Regions from separate parts of the Homo sapiens genome. Here regions 1, 2, 4 and 5 are each linked to region 3. Evidence: promoter capture Hi-C in 16 types of primary human blood cells and fetal thymus (Javierre and others, 2016). All regions are on one chromosome and are shown on one strand. The core of a region is centred on a gene start or on the middle of the fragment in contact, and the rest is flanking DNA. Distances in the headings are between cores, read along the strand shown. Region 1 has its middle 76 kb from the start of SLC4A7. Region 2 has its middle 98 kb from the start of LINC02084. Region 3 holds the start of NEK10 (NIMA related kinase 10). Region 4 has its middle 37 kb from the start of SLC4A7. Region 5 has its middle 56 kb from the start of SLC4A7.

Region 1 (2,700 bases), core at 33-2,532, 190 kb before region 3:
TGCTGTCTCAAAAATAAATAAAGCCATTCCTTCTTTTTGTATTGCCTTTCTCTCAAATTTCTGGCTGTCAAAATATTACCTGTCTTTAGGACTCAGCTCAAATTAGGGGCAGTACAGCATAGTCTTTTCTTTTTTTTTTTTTTTGAGACGGAGTGTCTCACTCTGTCATCAGGCTGGAGTGCAATTCTCACTGCAACCTCCGCCTCCTGGGTTCAACTGATTCTCGTACCTCAGCCTCCTGAATATGTGGGACTACAGGCACGCACCACAACATCCGGCTAATTTTCATATTTTTAGTAGAGACGGGGTTTCACCATGTTGGCCATGATGGTCTCGATCTCCTGACCTGGTGATCCATCTACCTCGGCCTCCCAAAGCGCTGGGATTACAGGCGTGAGCCTCCGTGCTCGGCCTTTTTTTTTTTTTTTTTTTTTTTTGAGACAGAGTCTTGCTCTGTCACCCAGGCTGGAGTGCAGTGGCCCAATCTCAGCTCACTGCAAGCTCCGCCTCCCAGGTTCACGCCATTCTCCTGCCTCAGCCTCCTGAATAGCTGGGACTACAGGCGCCTGCCACCACGCCCGGCTAATTTTTTGTGTTTTTGGTAGAGATGGTGTTTCACCATGTTAGCGAGGATGGTCTCGATCTCCTGACCTCGTGATCCGCCCGCCTCCCCTCGGCCTCCCAAAGTGCTGGGATTACAGGCAGGAGCCACCGTGCCCGGCCCTTTTTTTTTTTTTTTTTTTTTTTCTCTAATTAGCCCTAGTACTCTAGAAAACAGAGCCCAAGGCAGGGATTAAAGTGCTAATGCTTCCTTTGAGAAGTGCAAACCCACAGCAGCTGGGATGGGGAAAAGGGGAAGTGGGGCAAGAAAAGATGTGGAGCAATATAAAGTAATGTTTTACTCTGTTGTACAATATAAAGTAATATATTGCACAATATAAAGTAATATATAAAGTGCAATATAAAGTGCAATAATATAATGTATATATTATATATTAATATATATTAATGTTATATAATTATAATATTATAATACTATATTAAGGTAATATATAAAGTGCAATAATAATATAAAATTGCAATATAAAGTAATGTTTTACTCTGTTGTGCGGGTGCGTGCTCAGCACACAGAACTTCTCTCACATTGAGGTTGTCCGTGGAAGAGAGGAAGGTAGACGAAACCCTGTCTCCCGCTTCCAGTTGGCCAAAGTGTGTTTTTTGTTGTTGCGGTTTTGTTTTGTTTTATTTGAGACAGAGTCTCACCTTGTCACCCAGGCTGGAGTGTAATGGCGCGATCTCGGATCACTGCAACCTCTGCCTCCCAGAGTTCAAACAATTCTCCTGCCTCAGCCTCCGGAGTAGCTGGGATTACAGGCGCCCACCACTACGCCCAGCTAATTTTTGTATTTTTAGTAGAGCCACGTTGGCCAGTCTGGTCTGGAACTTCTGACCTCAGGTGATCCGCCCACCTTGGCCTCCCAAAGTGCTGGAATAACAGGCATGAGCCACTGCACACGGCCCTAATTGGCGAAAGTTTGCTCTGCAGGCAGAAACTACCTTGCATTCCTGCTTGCATCATTCTTTCCTTTTGCCTATCTGATCCTATGCCCTGCAGCACAGCATTTCATCCAAATCCGGAAGCAGTGGGAGAAGCCAGACATTCTGGAAGAGCGTCTGCTTGATCCAGCTGCAGAGCACTAGCCAAGGGGGAGGGCCTAGTTTGTCCTCAGCTGCGGTATGATTGAGGAGGTGGACCATGCCAGAGGATATGAGAAGTCACAAAGCATCTGTGTCCGTGCAGCATCTAAGAGAGTGGGTTCTAAAGAACATAGGAAAAGACCATTTCCTACCACTCACCAGCTGCGTGACCTGGGTAAAACACTTTATGCCAATGTTTTTTCTTTTTTCTTTTACCTTCTTATTTTTAAATAATTCTAAACTTACAGGAAGTAGCAAAAATAGTACAAAATTTCCACTATACCCATCACTCACTGCTATGGACTGAATGGTGTCTCCCCACAATTCATATGTTAAAGCCCCAACCCTCAGTGTGATGGTATTTAGCCTGGTGCCTTTAGGAGGTGATTTGGTTTAGATGAGGTCATGAGAGTTGGGTCTCATAATGGAATTAGTGCCCTTAGAAGAAGAGGCACCAGAGAACTTGCTACCCCCCTGCCATGTGAGAACACAGTAAGAAGACAGCCATCTGTAAGCCAGGAAGAGAGTTCTTATTAGAACCTGATCATGCTGTACCTTGATCTTGGACCTCCATCCTCCAGAACTATAAAAAAAATAGACTTCTGTTGTGTAAGCCACCTAGTCCGTGGTATTCTGTTATAGCAGCCCAACCTGCCATATGTCACCAATTGTTAACATTTTGCTGCATTTGTTTTATCATTCTTTCCTTCTCTCTCTCTCTCTCCATACACATGAATGCACACACATCTAATTATTACAGTTTTCTGAAGTATTTGAGAGGAAATTTATGACATCATGCCCCTTTATTCCTAAATACTTCAGAGTAAATTTCCTATTAACAAGGACATTCGGCTGGGTAAGGTGGCTCACGCCTGTAATGCCAGCACTTTGGGAGGCCGAGGCAGGCAGATCACCTGAGGTCAGGAGTTCAAGACCAGCCTGACCAACATGGAGAAACCCCGTCTCTACTAAAAATACAAAATTAGCCGGACATGGTGGCAC
Region 2 (2,700 bases), core at 62-2,561, 250 kb before region 3:
CAGTTGAGGTTCATTTGGCATTTGATTTCACAACTTTTGGCCCTGGGGACAATAGACTATGACCTTCTATGACATAATTGATGGGATAACAATAAAATTTTATTTAATATGTTGATTAAATGTTCCAGATTAAACACATATTACTTTTTATATGTTACTGATTACTTTTTATAATCAGATAAACAACAATAAGTATGATAAAGCATTGATGCTGGTAACTACAGACAGTGGAGAGCCAGGTTTCTCAATCTTGGCGTTATTGACATTTTAAGCTAGGCAATTCTTTATTGTCTGTCCTGTGAATTGTATAATGTTTAGCAGCATCTCTTGCTGATAGTGACAGGAGGCAGCCAAATGCACAGGGACAGGCCTCCAGTGAAACCCCATCTTCAAGCCAAAAACAGCCTGAAGGCTGAAAGACCAGACTGCTGGTCCCAGATGAAACCTGCAACTCACAGTGAGAACTTCTGTTCCCGTTTGCTCACCCTTTCCGATTGATTCTTTTCTTATTTTGAGACAAAGTTTCACTCTTGTTGCCTAGGCTAGAGTGCATAGCACAATCTTGGCTCACCACAACCTCTGCCTCCCAGGTTCAAGTTATTCTTCTGCCTCGGGTTACCGAGTAGCTGGGATTATAGGCATGCACCACCACGCATGGCTAATTTTGTATTTTTAGTAGAGATGGAGTTTCACCATGTTGGTCAAGCTAGTCTTGAACTCCTGACTTCAGGTGATCCGCTCACCTCAGCCTCCCGAAGTGCTGGGATTTCAGGTGTGAGCCACTGTGCCCAGCCCCAGTTGATTCTTTCTGAATAATGCCTTGTAGCCAATCAAATGTTGCCTTTTCCAACACTACCTATGGCCTGCCCCTCCCCCATTCTGAGCCCATAGAAGCCCTGGACTCAGTCATATTAGGGGGACTTTCCCACCTTCAGGTAGGGGGACCACCTCGGTGTCTCTGCTCTGCTGAAAGCTATTTCCTCACTCAATAAACTCCCCGCCTTGCTCACTCTTTGATTGTCAGTTCATCCTCATTCTTCTTGGGCATGGGACAAGAGCTCAGGAATTAATGCATAAGCCAGACTCAGCCTGGGTGGGCTGAGTGGGTGAGCCGTCTCCTGTAGCAGGAAGGAGGTAATATGATCAGGCAAGGCCCGGGTGGGGCATCACTGGCCAGAGGTCCCCATTTTGCAAAGTGACCAAGAAGAAAATCTTGCCTTATTTCCTCCACTCACTAGATACCAGTAGCAGTACCCCTCAACCCTGCATAAATTGTGGTAATCAAAAGTATCTCCAGATATTGCCAAATGTCCTCTGGGAAGCAAAATTGCCCTGATTGAGTAGCATTGCTTAGAGAGGACAGTAACAATGAAGGGACATCTGATGATGTGCTTTCTGGGCTCTTCCCCACCTTCTCCTTCTCTGACAACCTCCCTTCTTGGTTTCTGTTTGCTGGTATTTCAGAGCTTGACCAGTTTTAGTTCCTTATAGTTTTCAAATTTTTCTGGCAATCTCTCACCTACCATTATCTCCCACATGTTCACCCTATTTTCAGTTCTCATATTTTTGTCCATTGACACCATTTCTGAACTTTGGTTGTTCCCATTACCTTCACATCTGTACTGTGAGCCTTTCTTGCAAACACTAGATATGAAGAGGACACACTGCAAGTAGGTAGAAAAGAGGCTGTATTAACACATCTGCACATTTTCAGCACTTCTTTTTAGCAAGTTTATTTCACCCTCATGATAACAAAATATGGGAAAAATGAAGTAGAGGAATTTAGAGTGACTCATTTTGACATGTCAGAGAGAACTGGTAATGGAAAAATAATCCAGGTTTCCGAGGATCTAGTGACAGGACTTTTCATTTTGAAAAATACGATCATCCTACTCAAAGAAGTTTTAATAAGTCTGATCAAAATATTGATGTACACAATCACACAAGCCTGTTCTTGTATTTTTTTTCAAAGTTCAGGCCAAGTACAGCAAACAAATTTGGCCCGTTGTACCACCATGATGGGTTGTCTCTTTACACTGTCATTTTCTATCAAGTTTCTAGGGTTGGACTTTACAAAATAGGCCAAGCAAATTCCTATGCTGCCAAAACCTCAAGCAAAGTTTCTGAGGGTGTCTCAAGGACTTCTGGGTTCCATTTAAAACCTTCCCTCAAAAATTAGTTTCTTCCTTGTGGCATATGAGAAAAATTAACCTCTCAGATTTGAAGCTGATGCTTAATACTTGCCACCATCCATGAACAGTCAAACTCAACAGCTGTTCAAAGGTGGCTTGAATGAACCCAGTGGGTCCATTCAAAACCCTGTTATGCGACTCTACTGCACATCTCTGTTGGTCAAAAGCCCCTTCATCCTTCAAAGTCTAATGCCTTACATGAAGATCTCCTCTCTTTCAGAGCCCATACCACAATGGTCATTTTTTTTTTTTTTTTTTTTTTTTTTGAGATGAGTCTTGCTCTGTCGCCCAGGCTGGAGTGGTGTGGCACAATCTCAGGTCACTGCAAGCTCCACCTCCCAGGTTCATGCCATTCTCCTGCCTCAGCCTCCCAAGTAGCTGGGAATACAGGCGCCCGCCACCTCACCCGGCTAATTTTTTTTTGTATTTTTAGTAGAGACGGGATTTCACCGTGGTCTCGATCTCCTGACCTCATGATCCGCCTGCCTCGGCCTCCCAAAGTGCTGGG
Region 3 (2,700 bases), core at 36-2,535:
ATGTACAGAATACTTTTTCTACTCAGCATCGGTCTTCCTGCCCCGTCACCTTGTTTTGTTTTATTGGTAACATTAATCCTGATTGTTTTAGATCTCTGAAGTTTAATTAGTTCTGCTATACTCACCAGAGTTTGGCTTTCATCTCGCCTTTCTGCATTTCCAAAATAGGACCGTCTTCATTTTAAAAAATGCTTTCAATTACCCAAGCTTAAGTATTGTTAATCCAATGGGCCTACTTACTATCCACACCAGAAAAACGTTAGGGTTCACTGTATTCATTTAAAATCCAGTTTGGGAAGATGTAACCACCAGACACACACACGAGCGTTTAGTGATACCAAGATGAGGTTGAACAGGGCCCAGTACTCGAAGAAATCGTCGAAGGAGCATCATCGTGGTTAAGACCAGACTCGAAGTAGGTTTTACCCTGACTCCATCACTAGCTCTGCCATACTGGACTACTTAGGAAACTTCTTGTGCCTCCATTTTATAACTAAGTGAAATAAGGAAAGAATTTGAAATCGTGCCCGGCACAAAATTAAGCACTTAATAGATTGGCATTTTTCATTTATTTAAAGTTACAGAATGTCAGGTATATTTTTAAAGCGTTATCTAATGCAGTTCAGAAATTTTAAAGAAGCTCCAGACTTTCACAAAAGGTGAAGTGACTTGCCCAAAGCCACAAAACGAACTGGCGATAGTTATACTATACAGGTTTCTTGAATCCCAGGTCACTCTTTTTGTGAAAAATACGGTGCTGTGGCACCTTATTCTCATTGCCTGTGGCTTGAGTAACTGAAGACGTTTTCATGCCATATGAAAGGTATTTAGCATGCTGCATTGATTCCTTATCAGATTAAATCTTTGCTTTTAAAGAGAATTGATTTTTAGCCCATAGCAATTCTTGAAAGTAAACACTCCAAGATGAAGCTGCCCTTTCCCATCAAAGGTTAGACACCCTAAATCCAGAAAAATCTTCAACGTGTAGGAGACCTGTTCACAGGTAGCTCTAGGTTCCGGTGAAGTGGCTGCAGCACAGCCTTCAGCATCACTTGCTGCCTCTTCTGCTTGCAAGCTTGGTGGTGGATCTAGCGCGTCTCTGGTTGCTACGGCGATTCCCCGGCAGGCGTCATCCGTCGCTATGGCGTTCTGCACTGCGCAGCATGGCTGCTCCCGATTGGCTGAGGCGCCCCAGGTGGCGGAGGAAGAATTGTCGGCATTGGCCTGGCCAGCGCTGGTTGGTGGCCTGGAGGAGGATTTGATTGGAAAACCAACGGTGCAGCTGGCCGCGGTGTCCCTGAGGTTGAGGGGACCGGGAATAGGCTGGGGGGAGGACGGGACGGGCTGAGACTGGACGGGACCCCCGGTCTGCAGCAGCAGGTGACAGCAGCAGGGACAATGATAAGGAGATTGGCCTGAAGGAGGGACCGTCCCTCCCGCGCGGTGAGTAGGCGGGAGCCGGTGCTCGGCTGTGCCGGCGAGCAGCTTGAGTCAGGGTCTCCGGGGAGACGTCCTCAGGTCCCTGTGGAGCGGCCCCGAAGCCTCGGGAGCCAGCTTCACTAGACAAGAGGCAGAGGTAGAGAATGCGGCTGTGGTGGGTAAGTGAGTCACTGCGTGAGGCAGTCTTTTCAAAGCAGGTGGGTTTGTGTTGGACGGATGGATGGTGGGAAAGCGCCATCAACGATGCTTCTTGGCGCTTCCATTTTGATAACGGAATTATTCTGGTTAAATGGAGCCTGAATGTGTCTCTTCCAATCTGCTCCGACGCCTCTGGAGGTTCATTCTTCATCTCTATGAGCGTCGCTTTTCTGCCTTCTCCTTACAGGATGCTGCTTTGACTTTGCCCCTCTGCTTTTCTGCCCTACTTCGGTGAGCCCTTCCACTTCCTCGCCTCAGGCACCATCTATCTGACGATGATTAGAAAGTCTCCAACTGGAACCTAGCCTGCTCTACTAACTGTCAGACCCCAAAATCCAGCTGCCAAGTTAACGCCACACATGTGCAACCCTGAACGCCATCTTCCCCATGTCTGCTGCTGCTCTTGGATTCCCTATTTTGGGCATCACTATCCATTCAGCTTTCAAAAACTACACTCTAGACGACATCCATGACACTTACTGCTGCTTCCTCTGCATCTCTATCAATTATCAAGACTATCCCTTCTTAATAGGTGTTGAATCAATTCCCACATTACCATCTCTATTTTTACTGTCTCAATTTCCACCATCGGTTGGTTAAATTCAACACCCATCTGGCTTCTCCGATTCTAGTCTGGCCCTATCTATCCAATCCACTTTTTTCCCCACCATTGTTGAACTGATATATATATATGTGTATATATATATATATGGAGTCCTTCTAAAAAAGACTCCTTTTTTAGAAGGAGTCTTGCTGTGCTGCCAGGCTGGAGTGCAGTGGAGCGATCTCAGCTCACTGCAGCCTCCGCCTTCCGGGTTCAACCAATTCTCATGCCTCAGCCTCCAGAGAGCTGGGATTACAGGCGCGAGCCACTACGCCTGGCTAATTTTTGTATTTTTAGTAGAGAAGGGGTTTCACCATGTTGGTCAGGCTGGTCTCGAACTCCTGATCTCAGGTGATCCACCCGCCTCAGCCTCCCAAAGTGCTGGAATTACAGGCGTGAGCCACCGTGCCCGGCTAAACTGATCTTTTTAAAACGCACATAAGGGCATTTCCCTTCCC
Region 4 (2,700 bases), core at 197-2,696, 150 kb before region 3:
ATGCAAAAATTAGCTGGGGGTGGTGGTGGGCACCTGTAATCCCAGCTACTTGGGAGGCTGAGGCAGGAGAATTGCTTGAACCCGGGAGACAGAGGTTGCAGTGAGCCAAGATTCCGCCACTGCACTCCAGCCCGGGTGACAGAAAGAGACTCCATTCAAAAAAAAAAAAAAAAAAAAGCTATAGGAGACAGTGCATATAAATTATGATTAATGAGACAAATGCTATAAGAAATTTTTGAGCAAAGGGAGTAAAGAGTTAAGCTAGCTAACGTGCATGGGAAAGTTTTCAGAGAAGGAAATCATTTCATTTGAAACTTGAAGTGTTAGTAGAACAAGCCTGGTTTAGAAAGCGGTCAAGTGCATTCCTGGAAGAGGTGCTATAGCACATCAGTAGGATTCAACCAGATCTGATTTCCTTTTTTTTTTTCTTTTGAGACGGAGTTTTGCTCTTGTTGCCCAGGCTGGAGTGCAATGGCACGATCTCGGCTCACTGCAACCTCTGCCTCCCGGGTTCAAGTGATTCTCCTGCTTCAGCCTCCCGAGTAGCTGGGATTACAGACATGCACCACCACACCAGGCTATTTTTGTATTTTCAGTAGACGTGGGATTTCTCCATGTTGGTCAAGCTGGTCTCGAACTCTCGACCTCAGGTGATCCGCCCGCCTCAGCTTCCCAAAGTGCCGGGGTTATAGGCATGAGCCACTGCGCCTGGCCCAGATCTGATTTCTAAGGTGAGCAAAATATAAATTAATTGAATTTTATGAGCTGAGTATTTGTATTTATTGAGCCAATCTTGGAGTCAGACTCCTCTCTCTCTCACATATAACATACCCAAGCTTTTGGCAAATCTATCAACTCTGTGTTCAAAACATATCCCAAATCCAACCATTTCTCCCCATCTTCATGGCTACTAGCCTGGTTCAAGTCACCATCAATTCTCACCTGACTACTACAGAAACATCCTAATTGGTTGTGTTGGTTCTCCGTTGCTGTGTAACAAATTGCCACACACTTAATAGCTTAAAACCACACACATTTATTATCTCACTGTTCCCGTGGGTCAGGAGTCTGAAAATGGCTTAACCAGATACTCAGCTTACAGCCTCCACAATCTGTAATCAAGATGTAGGCTTGCTATATTCTCATCTGAGGGATTGACTAGGGAAGAATTTAACTCCAAGCTCATTCAAATTGTTGGTAAAGTCAACTCTTTGTGGTTGTGTAACTGGAGACCCAGCTTCTCACTGGCTCTTGGCTGGGAGCTATCTGTAGGTCCTAGAAGTGTCTCATAGTTCCCTGCAAGTGGCCCTCTCCACAGCAGTTCACACCATGGTGGTTTGCTTCTTCAGCAGAATCACTCACACTCTGGTCGGCTAAGATGAAGTCTTATGTAATGTAACATATTCATGAGAATGACATCCATCATCTTTGCCATATTCTGTTCATTGGAAGCAAGTCACAGGTTCTGTCAGCACTTAAGGGAGAATATTACACAAGGCATGACTCATTGGAGGTCAACTAAGGCTGTGTCAACCAAATCGGTCTCCCAACTTCCACGCATGCTCTCCTACTGTTTATCTTCTATACAAAACCCAGAGTGATGTTTTTAAAGTGTAAAACGTAACAATGCCGTTCCCTTGCTCACAACCTTCTAATGGCTTAAAATCTAAAAGGCCTATAAAATCATATATATGTGATCACTGGCTACCTCACTTGCAGTCCCTCTGCTTATTCCTACCCAGTCCCATGGGAATCCTTGCTGTTCTGGAAATAGGCCAAGCACATGTCTGTCTTTGCACTTACTATTTTCTCTGCTTCAAACACTCTATTCCAGTAAATCTTTAAGACTTGAACCCTCTCTTCATTTAGGTGTCTGCTCAAATGTCACTTCTTCAGAAACTACTACTTTTAACCCTCCAATCTAAGATAGCCCTTCCAGGATGATCCACACCTGTCCTTTGCCTCATTTTCTTTCTGTCCTTTGTCTTTCTGTGTATTTTAGAATATACTTATTCACTTATTTATTAACTGTCTCTCCCACTGGAACTCAAGCTTCTTGAGGACAGGGACCCAGTCTGTCTTATTCACTGTAATTTTCCCAGTGCCTATAAAATTGCCTGGCATATAGAAGACACTTATTTTTTTGAGATGGAGTTTCGCTCTTGTTGCCCAGGCTAGAGTGCAATGGCGCAATCTCGGCTCACTGCAAGCCCACCTCCCGGGTTCAAGCGATTCTCCTGCCTCAGCCTCCCAAGTAGCTGGGATTACAGGAATGCACCACCACGCCTGGCTAATTTTTTTTTTTGTATTTTTGGTAGAGACAGGGTTTCTCCATGTTGGTCAGGCTGGTCTCGAACTCCTGCACTCCAGTGATCCGCCCGCCTCGGCCTCCCAAAGTGCTGGGATTACAGGCGTGAGCCATGGGGCCTGGCCCTTTTCCCTTTTTTTTTTTTTTTTTTTTGAGCTGGAGTCTCACTTTGTTGCTCAGGCTGGAGTACAGTGGAACGATCTTGGCTTACTGCAACCTCTGCCTCCTGAGTTCAAGCGATTCTCTCACCTCAGCCTCCTAAGTAGCTGGGATTACAGGCAACCACCACCACACTCAGCTAATTTTTGTATTTTTAGTAGAGATGGGGATTTACCATGTTGGTCAGGCTGGTCTCAAACCCCTGACCTCAAGTGATCCACCCACCTTGGTAT
Region 5 (2,700 bases), core at 108-2,607, 170 kb before region 3:
AGAGTGCTGTCCCAGAGTCTGCTGGGAGTGTAAATAATACACAGTACATACATTGTATTACTTTTCTAAAAATCCAAGATAATTCTGAATTCTGACATCTGGCCCCAGGGTTTTAGATAAAGCCTTGTTGTCCTATAAGAGCAGAGATAACTGTACAAAAGAAGGACATTGGTTCAGTTGATATTATTTCTGAACTGTTACTCTTTAGCATATGAAAATAATATTTTTCTAAATCAATAGGTTTCAATATATGATCTCAGGACACTGGAAATTTCTAAGCTATCTTATGTGGTCTGTACTTTTATTGCTATATGTAAAAAATTATGTATGCTTTATAGTGACAGCAAGAGATTATTGATAGCTCATAAAAACCAAGCCAATTTGTTCTTCCCACTAACTCACCTCTTTCTCTTTCTCCTCCCCTACTTTTTTCTTTCTCTCTCTTTGTGGTATGTGTTGGCAAGTAGGGAAAATAGGAACAGGGTCGGCTTCATGGATATGTGATCAGTGCAGCTACACAAGATCCTGCACTTTCTCTGGAGTCAGGGTTCTCCAGAGAAACAGAAACAGTAAGATGTAGGGGTGTGTGTGTATGTGTGTGTGTGTGTATGTGTGTGTGTATGTGTGTGTGTGTGTGTGCACGCACATGCACTCGCATATGTGTGTATAAAGAGATTTATTATAAGGAATTGGCTCCTGCTATTATGGAGGCTGTCAAGTCTCAAGATCTGCAAAGTGAGTTGGCAAGCTGTAGACTCACTCAGGAGAGCTGATGGTGTGGTTCTAGTATGATGGCCAGCAGGCTCAAGACCCAGGAAGAGAATGTTTCAGTTTAAATCTTTGTTTGTTTGTTTGTTTGTTTTTTGAGACAGAGTCTCACTCTGTCACCCAGGCTGGAGTACAGTGGTGTGGTCTCGGCTCACTGCAACCTCTGCCTCTCAGGTTCAAGCGATTCTCCTGCCTCAGCCTCCCGAGTAGCTGGGATTACAGGTGTGCCCCACCATGCCTGGCTAATTTTTTTACATTTTTAGTAGAGATGGGGTTTCACCATGTTGGTCAGGCTGATCTCGAACTCCTGACCTCGTGATCCGCCCACCTCGGCTTCCCAAAGCACTGGGATTATAGGCGTGAGCCACCACGCCCGGCCAGTTTAAATCTTAAGTCAGGGAAAACCTCTCTCTCATTTGGGAAGGGTCAGCCCTTTGTTCTGGCCTTCAGCTGACTGAATGAGGCCCCCCACATTAGGGAGGGCAAACTGCTTTGCTTAGTGTACAGATTGAAATGTTAATCTCTTTCAAAACACTCTCACAGAAACAGCCAGAATGATGTTTAACCAAATTTGTGGAGTCCCACAAATTATGTAGCTGGCACTGGATAGGGAGAATACTCAAGAAAATCTTTTTTTTTTTCTTTTTTTTTTTTAGACGGAGTTTCGCTCTTGTTGCCCAGGCTGGAGTGCAATAGCATGATCTTGGCTCAATGCAACCTCCGCCTCCCCGGTGCAAGCAATTCTCCTGCCTCAGCTTCCCAAGTAGCTGGGACTACAGGTGCTCGCCACCACGTCCAGCTAATTTTTGCATTTTTTAGTAGAGACGGGGTTCCACCATGTTGGTCAGGCTGGTCTCGAACTCCTAACCTCAGGTGGCCACCCGGCTCAGCCTCTCAAAGTGCTGGGATTACAGGCGTGAGACACGGCGCCTGGCCCTCAGTGAAATCTTTAGCTTCTTACACACAGACGCAGACACACACACACACTCTCACACACACACCACAGAGTTATTTTTCATCATCGTTGTTCCTACTTTTGGTACTGGTGGATGCAAATGATGAAATTCAAGAATCAGCCAATTCAACTGATATTTTAAACTTGAATCACAACTGACTTTTCCTTTTACCTCACTTCCCATTTCCAGACTGCATATAGTCTTATTAATGTTTGCTAATAGCTCTCTAATCCATCTTTTCTTCTTTTTTTAATTATTTTTTTTACAGTGGGGTGAGACAGGGACTCGCTATGTTGCCCAGGCTGGTCTCAAAGTCCTGAGCTCAAGCAACCCTCCAGCCTCTGCCTCCTAAAGTGCTGAGATTACAGGCCACAGTCACCCTTTCTTATTCATTTTCATTCCCACCAACCTAGTCCAGGAATAGTTTTCCTATTCTTCTCCTCATCCCTGTCTTCTTCCCCTCCATTACCCCTCATTCTCCCTTTTCCTCCTCCTCCTCATCTTCTTTCACTATTACCACTATCACTATCATTACAGGAAGAGTCATTATGCCTATATTATGTCAGACACTGTATTAGGTTTTTTGTTTGTTTGTTTGTTTTTGAGACCGAGGCTCGCTCTGTCGCCCAGGCTGGAGTGCAGTGGCACGATCTCGGCTCACTGCAACCTCCACCTCCCGGGTTCAAGCAATTCTCCTGCCTCAGCTTCCCAAGTAGCTGGGACTACAGGTGCTCGCCACCATGTCCAGCTAATTTTTGCATTTTTTAGTAGAGACGGGGTTTCACTATATGTAGGGCAGGCTGGTCTCGAACCCCTGACCTCAAGTGATCCACCCGCCTCAGCCTCCCAAAGTGCTGGGATTACAGGTGTGAGCCACTGAGCCTGGCCAATATTGAGTTTTATTAGGGGTAACTTCCATAAACAGACGGCCCAGTGGCAGTGGGCTGGAAAGGAGAACCAAGACTGCTTGCAGAAA

The links. Contacts are between HindIII fragments. The CHiCAGO score rates a contact against its expected background, and 5 or more counts as called.
Region 1: a fragment that was not itself captured here is called in contact with the fragment with the promoter of NEK10 in region 3 in 3 of 17 cell types (monocytes, neutrophils and M0 macrophages); the score reaches 7.1 in monocytes.
Region 2: a contact is called between a fragment that was not itself captured here and the fragment with the promoter of NEK10 in region 3, in 8 of 17 cell types (monocytes, endothelial precursors, activated CD4 T cells and 5 more). The highest score is 7.6, in monocytes.
Region 4: a contact is called between a fragment that was not itself captured here and the fragment with the promoter of NEK10 in region 3, in 4 of 17 cell types (monocytes, endothelial precursors, M0 macrophages and 1 more). The highest score is 8.9, in monocytes.
Region 5: a fragment that was not itself captured here is called in contact with the fragment with the promoter of NEK10 in region 3 in 1 of 17 cell types (monocytes); the score reaches 8.8 in monocytes.

Annotation. Positions count from the first base shown.
Region 1 is chr3:27,558,998-27,561,697 of GRCh38, reverse strand. No RefSeq gene overlaps it. Among named protein-coding and RNA genes, the nearest start is that of SLC4A7, 76 kb to the right of the region's middle. The HindIII fragment of the contact is 4,557 bases long and covers 1-2,700 here.
Region 2 is chr3:27,613,124-27,615,823 of GRCh38, reverse strand. No RefSeq gene overlaps it. Among named protein-coding and RNA genes, the nearest start is that of LINC02084, 98 kb to the left of the region's middle. The HindIII fragment of the contact is 5,969 bases long and covers 1-2,700 here.
Region 3 is chr3:27,367,968-27,370,667 of GRCh38, reverse strand. NEK10 (NIMA related kinase 10) reads left to right here and starts at 1,285. Exons shown (of 36, transcript NM_001394966.1): 1 at 1,285-1,443. RefSeq lists an enhancer at 1,527-2,027. The HindIII fragment of the contact is 2,054 bases long and covers 1,078-2,700 here.
Region 4 is chr3:27,520,409-27,523,108 of GRCh38, reverse strand. No RefSeq gene overlaps it. Among named protein-coding and RNA genes, the nearest start is that of SLC4A7, 37 kb to the right of the region's middle. The HindIII fragment of the contact is 1,216 bases long and covers 839-2,054 here.
Region 5 is chr3:27,539,529-27,542,228 of GRCh38, reverse strand. No RefSeq gene overlaps it. Among named protein-coding and RNA genes, the nearest start is that of SLC4A7, 56 kb to the right of the region's middle. The HindIII fragment of the contact is 9,245 bases long and covers 1-2,700 here.